Regions from separate parts of the Homo sapiens genome. Here region 2 is linked to region 1. The links are contacts of gene promoters, found by promoter capture Hi-C in human tissues and cell types (Jung and others, 2019). All regions are on one chromosome and are shown on one strand. The core of a region is centred on a gene start or on the middle of the fragment in contact, and the rest is flanking DNA. Distances in the headings are between cores, read along the strand shown.

What was found. The method cuts DNA at HindIII sites, captures the fragments that hold promoters and counts their contacts. A contact is called where the count stands out against the background at its distance.
Region 2: a contact is called between the fragment with the promoter of CHI3L1 here and the fragment with the promoter of MYOG in region 1, in 3 of the 25 tissues and cell types used here (bladder, small bowel and stomach).

What each region holds. Positions count from the first base shown.
Region 1 is chr1:203,083,880-203,087,818 of GRCh38, reverse strand. It overlaps MYOG (myogenin), which reads left to right and starts at 1,807. Exons shown (of 3, transcript NM_002479.6): 1 at 1,807-2,328; 2 at 3,091-3,172; 3 at 3,788-3,939. The coding sequence starts at 1,858. The coding sequence ends at 3,909. It overlaps MYOPARR (myogenin promoter associated myogenic regulatory antisense long non coding RNA), which reads right to left. Exons shown (of 3, transcript NR_160550.1): 1 at 3,840-3,939; 2 at 3,246-3,447; 3 at 1-1,336. RefSeq lists an enhancer at 1-488. The HindIII fragment of the contact is 26,934 bases long and covers 1-3,939 here.
Region 2 is chr1:203,185,390-203,189,328 of GRCh38, reverse strand. CHI3L1 (chitinase 3 like 1) reads left to right here and starts at 2,625. Exons shown (of 10, transcript NM_001276.4): 1 at 2,625-2,730; 2 at 2,984-3,013. The coding sequence starts at 2,706. The HindIII fragment of the contact is 13,862 bases long and covers 1-3,939 here.

The DNA.
Region 1 (3,939 bases), core at 558-3,057:
CCACCACGCCCGGCCTATGCTGCTACTTTCTATCATGCTGGTAAGGCCAAGAACAGAATTAAGACCTCACTGCTCTCCCTCAACATGCTTAGGGTTCTTTTGTTGTCCAGCTATGTTCCCTCCTTCCCTCCATTTCCTGTCCCAAAAGGACATCAGAATTCTCCTGGCTCCCTGCTGTGAATAATGAGAGGAAGGAACACTGGTTCTTCACATGCCTCGCAGATCTCATGTTCCCTGTGAAGTCTCCCATGAGTCCCCAGCAGGGTTCCCCTTCCTCTTATTGTCCTTGCCACTGGCTTGAACTTGTCAGTTTGATCTGTCGTAGGATAAGGAGCAGGACATTAGTCTATGGGGAGGAAAAAACTGGGAACAAAGGATAAAAGATAGAGGGAGCAGATTGCAGCCCAAAGCTACACGTCAATGGAACGGGCTGTCTCCTGACGTGAGCAGAAGCTGAACAGTAGCCGCCTCGGAGGAGATTTGGGCATCAGGGGCTAGGTAGAAAGAGGTGATCACCGTTGTCTATCAGATGGTAAGTTCGAGGGCAGGGATCCTGTCTGGGGTGTCCCTATAATCCCCAGCCCTAAGACTGAGCCTTGTTCACTGCTAGTGTCTAAGGTCTGCCCACTGCATTGGAAGGAATTTGTCCTCTCAGACCCTGAGGCACCTACTGAGAGGTGACCATGGCCTGAGAGGCCTGAAGATTAAATAGTCCCTGCTCTACCTGACATTTGAGACCTGCATGATACGTGTAAAATTGATGGCTCAGACAGTAAGAGGCAGAACAACCAAGCCCGGTGGCCAAGGAGAGAGGAGATTTAAACTGAGTTTGAAGGGCTCTGTTTTTTCTACTTTTTCACCCCCGTCCACATTAATGAGCCAGGAAAATTCTGGTGTTGGAAAAAGAGTTGAGGAGGTAACATAGAAGGACAGATCAATGGTCCGGAGTGAGACAGGGAGGAGACAGGGAGCTTAGGACATCTTGACCTTGCCGCTCTGGGGAAGGTGGCAACGTGTAGGCTGTAAATTCTAATCTCTGCTCTGACCACGGCTGCTGTATTAAAGAGGAAATTTCTCTTTACCCCTGCCAAGAAAACCAAAACCCAAATAATTTCTCTTGCCTCAATTTACCCCCCCAGATGAGACCTAAGAGAACATACAGCTCAAAGCTGCTTGGGAACCCCAAAAGTGGAATCTGTTAGCTGCTCTGAGTCTTGATCCTTCTTATCCCTGGATACTGAGTGCCCATGAATGCCCAGAATCTGAAGCAGTCCCATTCTTTCCGGAGGGAAGTCTTTAAAAGAGTCTCATCGACTGATGTAGTGTGGTTAAGGTGCTGTCAGGAAGCAAGGAGATGGATAAGTTGGCTCTTAAGGCCCCTTCCAGCCTAAGCCTACCCTTCCTTGTTCCCTCCTCCCCCTATACCCACCAGCTTCTTCGGGACTGCAAGGAGACAGCAGGCAGGCCGCCCAGCTAGGAGTAATTGAAAGGAGCAGATGAGAGGGGAATGTGTCCTCCCCCAACGCCCCTGCCCCACAGGGGCTGCTGAGAAATGAAAACTAATCAAATTACACCCGACGGCCTCCCGACCCGTGCACAGGAGCCCGCCTGGGCCAGGGGCAGGCTGGCAGGGTGGGGTGGGGGCCATGCGGGAGAAAGAAGGGGAATCACATCTAATCCACTGTAAACGCCTTGATGTGCAGCAACAGCTTAGAGGGGGCTCAGGTTTCTGTGGCGTTGGCTATATTTATCTCTGGTTCCATGCCAGCGGGGAGGGTTTAAATGGCACCCAGCAGTTGGCGTGAGGGGCTGCTGGAGCTTGGGGGCTGGTGGCAGGAACAAGCCTTTTCCGACCCCATGGAGCTGTATGAGACATCCCCCTACTTCTACCAGGAACCCCGCTTCTATGATGGGGAAAACTACCTGCCTGTCCACCTCCAGGGCTTCGAACCACCAGGCTACGAGCGGACGGAGCTCACCCTGAGCCCCGAGGCCCCAGGGCCCCTTGAGGACAAGGGGCTGGGGACCCCCGAGCACTGTCCAGGCCAGTGCCTGCCGTGGGCGTGTAAGGTGTGTAAGAGGAAGTCGGTGTCCGTGGACCGGCGGCGGGCGGCCACACTGAGGGAGAAGCGCAGGCTCAAGAAGGTGAATGAGGCCTTCGAGGCCCTGAAGAGAAGCACCCTGCTCAACCCCAACCAGCGGCTGCCCAAGGTGGAGATCCTGCGCAGTGCCATCCAGTACATCGAGCGCCTCCAGGCCCTGCTCAGCTCCCTCAACCAGGAGGAGCGTGACCTCCGCTACCGGGGCGGGGGCGGGCCCCAGCCAGGGGTAAGTGGCCATCCCATCCCCCTGCCCCAAGGGGACGGGGCCAGAGGGAGGCACCTGGACAGCCTCAAGACCCCAAGAGGGGCTCAGAGGGTTGGTGCAGGTGCCAGACAGGGTCGAGGGGCTGCAGGAGCCCTTCCCTGGTCAGAGCTGGGCTATCCAGCTGACCTCCTGTGTCCTGTGTTCTTTCCAGACAAGATAAAGGCAGTGGGGAGGAAGTGCAGAAGGGGTTGGGGTGGGGAACATAGGACTGAAGAAAGATCAGGAGCAAGGCCACAGTCAGCCCAGGTGAGGGTGAGGATTAATCCCAGCGCCTGAGTCAGAGCCTAAAAGGCCAGGCCAAGTTCACCAGAGAAGACTGCTTTGCCCCCATCCTGGGTGTGGCTGAGCAGAGAGAAAACCCACTCAGTCTCATTGGAACTCCAGCAGGCCTGCACAGAGCGACCTTCACTGGGCCACAAAATCTGTCTCCATCACCCTTATCGCCAGAGTCAGGAGAACCAGGGACCCCTTTAAGCTGGTGTCCTGTGAGAGCAGAACCACCACCCAGGATGGAAGCCAGGAAGGCCTGGAAGCAGGGCCTCTGGGGTGTGAGAGGAGCTAGTTACAAAGATTCTGGGGTTGGGGATGGCCTGGGCTGGAAGGCCACAGCCTGTGGCCCACCCTCCAACCCCACCACAGGTACTTCTGCCCACTGGGACTAGGCAGAGAGAGACATCAAAGAATGGCTGTGCCCCGACCTTGGGCCTTCGCCCTGTCTTGCAGGTGCCCAGCGAATGCAGCTCTCACAGCGCCTCCTGCAGTCCAGAGTGGGGCAGTGCACTGGAGTTCAGCGCCAACCCAGGGGGTAAGTAAGGCCTGACTGGTAACCTTGGCTCCAATCCCTCAGTCCCTCCCTGGGCCAGGTTCTCCCCTCTTACCTTATTCCTTGCTCCGGTCCTCTTCCCTTGGGTCTCTCTAGGGACCTGCTGACTCCAAGGCCCAAAGGGTGGGCTGGGAGGTTCTGTGTGCCCCTGCAGTCTTGACCAGCAAAGGAGTGATAGTAGCTCCTGCAGCTCCCCAGCTGATGCCTGGTGGTTGACCTTCTCCACAGAGAGGACAATGTCCCTGCCCCAGGGGTCCCTGTGAAGTGCTGAGTCAGTGCTGCAAAACTGGGCCGAGCAAAGGGCAGGTCCAGTCTCTGGGGAGCTCCATCCTGCTCCAACTTGAGTGGCTGCTTCCAAACCCTACCTACTAGGGGAGTTCAGAAAAGAGGCGCATACACACACACACACACACACACACACACACACACACACTCACAGAGCATGGGGAAAGGCAGGGACTAGGGAGTAGAACTCCGGAGCTTTGTCATTCATCTGTCCTGGAAAACCTCTGTCACCCCAAGGGTCCCATCCTCTATTCTGGGCCTCAAGAACCCCCACTGCTCACCCAGGTACCACCTTCCCACCTCCCCTTACAGATCATCTGCTCACGGCTGACCCTACAGATGCCCACAACCTGCACTCCCTCACCTCCATCGTGGACAGCATCACAGTGGAAGATGTGTCTGTGGCCTTCCCAGATGAAACCATGCCCAACTGAGATTGTCTTCCAAGCCGGGCATCCTTGCGA
Region 2 (3,939 bases), core at 1,376-3,875, 100 kb before region 1:
AATGACCCAGCCGTTGCCTTTACTGAGTTTATAGTCTAGTGAGAGAGGCAAACAAAACATCCACTGCCACACACAACATATAAAATTATAACTGAGTCAGGTGTTAAGGAGAGAGGTACAAAGTGCTCTGACAGCCCTATAGCGGGTTTTCTGTCACCTGGAGACTGCCTTTTCTGCAGACAAGGTGACTCCTGAGCTGCAATCTGAAGGATGAGGAAGAATAAAGCAGTCAAAGAAGAGCAGTGTTAGGCTGCAATTCTCCATCCGCAATTCTCCAACCGCAATTCTCCATGGGTTGCCTGCATTTCCTGCACAGCTTATGTGCAGAGGCACTGGCTTCTTTGTTCTAGGCAATCTTTTTAGTGATGTTTGTACAGCAAACAGCCTTGGAAGATAGAAATAGCGTCCCCCCTCCAGACCAAAAGGCAGATTTGTTTACTGTCCAGTAATAAAGATAATGTCTCCCTTATCTTGGGCTGGCCAAGGTGAGGAAGGCTTACTGCTCATCATGAAAGATTTGAGTTCCTTAAACTAGGGATTCCTCTGCTGTGATGTAACTCATTGCATTCATGGCATCTACCTGGGCTCCTCCAACACTGCCCTTGTGAGACCTGAGGGCTAAGGGGAACTGACCCTAACATGAAGTTCATGCTGCTTGCTGTACCATGGATAATAAAGTCCTTTGTCTCTGACCTAGGAGTCTCGTGTCTTCTGCCAACATCCACGAAACTGTAGTTATGTCATTAATTTGCAAGTAGCATAAAATCTCAGATCTTTCATCGTTATTTACAGGCAAGTGGATGTCATATATAAAGGCCCTGTGGCGGGAGTCAGTAGAGCAAATATAAGGATTTAAAAGAAGACATATAAGCATGAGTGGAATATAGGGAGGGTGGGGGTCATGGCCTGAGATAAGGCTGGGAGGTGGTGAGCCTATGAGACCCTTGGCCAATCCTGCTAACACAGGCCTGGGGGTATCTTGGCCATTTGTTGTTACAAAGCTGCCTTCAGGCAGAGCATGTGGAATTAATAAACTGAGCTTGAGGGAGCATAGGACAACAAGGCTTGGGCCAATCTAAGCCTATGAAATAATTTTTAACAAAGGGAGATAGTGAAAATAGGAGGTGTTTTCTTAACATCCTGTGCTCTGTGATGAAAAATTTTGCATCTGCATGCCACTTCATAATATCACTATTAGAAATTAGAAGTCCTCCTCTCAGTGCCCCAAATGAACCAGAAGAAGCTATCATTGACTGTCATTGCTGTCAATCATCTTGGGTACAAAAGGAGGCAGTCATCTTAAAAAGGAAAAGTGATGCCTCTTTAGTATTCACCGAGCGTGATTCTGGACAAGCCACTTTTTGTCCACCTCTCTTACAATGAAGGGAAGGCACTGGCTGAGTTTTAAAGGAAGAGAAAGGGAGAGAGGGAGAGAAGAGGGAGAGAGCAGAGAGACCTCACCGAGAGAGCTGCAAAACCAGCCTGGAAAAATTAGAGTATTACCTAACATTAGTGAAAAATAAAGGTACTTTCTTGAGAAGCCCTTGGACCCATTCTGCCTCTTGGAGTTCTGAACTTTTCACTCACTGCCTATTAATTAATGTTAAGCCTGCAAAGAATGGAGTTGTCCTGGATATTTGGCCAAAAAAAAAATGTATCCACAAACAGGGACGTAATCAGGCAGGGAGCCTCGTTAAGAAGTTTTGTTCTTGTCCTAGGAGTGATGAGAGATCACTGAAGGATTTAGAGAGGGGCTGTATCATCAGGCTTGGGTTCCAAAGCCTCACTGAGAGAGTTGGGGAGCTGACTGATGTCAGATGCTCGTGCAGCCGCCCCGTAGGGCCTGTATTTCCTCCATGGTGCCTCACTGCAGCACCGAGCTTGCAAAAGATCCTCTCTCTTTATGGGAATTTCAAAACAGAAGCAAAATAGCACCGGGGCTTAAAGCATTCTTGGGAATTTCCCTGTCTTTCCCTCTAAATAATCAGCATGTAAATTGCAAAAAAAAAAAAAAAAAAAAAAAAAAAGACACGGGCCCAAAAGGGAGCGCTCAGTTTCAGGCTCTTTGCTTTCCTTCCTCCCGAGGCTCTCTGGCCCTTACCCAGCCTGAAGACAGAAAGTGTGAGGGGGAGGGTAGGAAGGTAGGTCAAGCAGGGCAATGCTGAGCCTGGGAAGAAAACAACAGCCTTGTTTAGGGCACTGTGGCTTACGTAACTAAATTGTGCCCAGTTTCCACCTGGCCAGGGGCCTGGAGTGAATGCTGAAGATGCAAAGGTAGAGGCTGCCAGAAAAGCCAGGAAATTGCTGGCAAGAAAGGCCAGTGGTGGGGTGCAGGAGTGGGAGGAAGGCTGGGAAATGCGGCTGAGTCACATCTCCAGAAGCCCCCCATCATCACCCTAGTGGCTCTTCTGCTGGCAGGTGCCTCATGAAGACCTGACCCAAAGTTTTCAAAACTCTGCGGTTTCTCAACCCTCCTCTGGTAATCCATAGTACTCCCCCGCCTCCACTTGCCAGCCTCGTGATTCCTTCATTGACACATAGCTCAGTTCCCATAAAAGGGCTGGTTTGCCGCGTCGGGGAGTGGAGTGGGACAGGTATATAAAGGAAGTACAGGGCCTGGGGAAGAGGCCCTGTCTAGGTAGCTGGCACCAGGAGCCGTGGGCAAGGGAAGAGGCCACACCCTGCCCTGCTCTGCTGCAGCCAGAATGGGTGTGAAGGCGTCTCAAACAGGTATCTGGGCTAGCCAAGGTTAATCCATCAGAGTTGTGGGTTTTCAGGCCCAGACAGCCCGCAGAGCCATCTGCCTGCTGGGTGAGGGACTAAGGGAGTGGGCAGAGGGGGAGGAGAAGCAGAGCCAGGGGAGGGACTGAGGCTGCAACCAGGAGGTGGGGGTGGGGGAGGTGGGTCTCAGTTGCTTGGGGGAGGGAGCAGGGCGGAAGGGCAGGATGCACTTGCAGGGGTCTCATCCTGGATTTCTCTTCAGGCTTTGTGGTCCTGGTGCTGCTCCAGTGCTGTGAGTAATCCCTCCACCTCCACTTTTAAGTCCAGAGGCGTGGCGAGGGCACAGGGCAGGTGTGGAGGAGGTCTTAGCTCCAAGGGAACACTTTGCCAGGTTCTTCTGTGCTTCCAATGACTTCGAAATAGTCACGTTTGCTAAACTGGAGTGAGGAGTATATGGATGTTTATTTTGCTATACTCTTTGGTATATGTGAAAATTCTCAAAATAAGAAACTTTAAAAGGTCCTGGTTCAGTGAAGGCTTTGACTAACAGCCCCTGGGAGCCGCTAGTACAGTTGCCCAGTAGCTGCTTGGATGAGTGATGCCCACATTGTTTGCAGCAGGAGAAACAGAATTAGAGGCGAGGAAGGATTTCCTGGTCCATTGTGATATTGTGCCCCAGCCTGGGGGACATGCCGAGGGAGCACAGGACTGCCATTCCGGGTGGGTTACAAGTTAGAGGCACTCTCACCAGGAGGCAGAGAAAGGTGGGCCAGAGTCCCTCATGGATGAAGGACCTCACTGCAGGTCACTAAAGGTGCCAGCCTGAAAGCCAGGGCCATCTGTGACACAGGCTATCTTGGGCCTTCCCCTCCCACAAAGCCACTGCTTCCAGGAAGCCTGCTGTGCTGGCACCAAGTCCCATTTCATCCTTATTCCCCAGCTCCTACCCTTCCCCCACACAGTGCCTGTAGCGTATTCATCCCCTGCATTGGATCTTTTCTAAGCATTTTCAGAATAGGCCTTATTTTCACCAGTCAGGGAACTCCCCAGAGGCAGGGGGACCTGAACCAGCTCCTTTCATTTAAGAATTCTGACTTTGCTCACAATCTGCACCCCACTCCTCCCTACCCAACCCCACACCCCATTGGTGCTCAGCTCTGGGCTCAGCCTGAGGTCTCTTGCCGAATCCTGGCCCGGGCCCCATCCCAGACTTCTCCT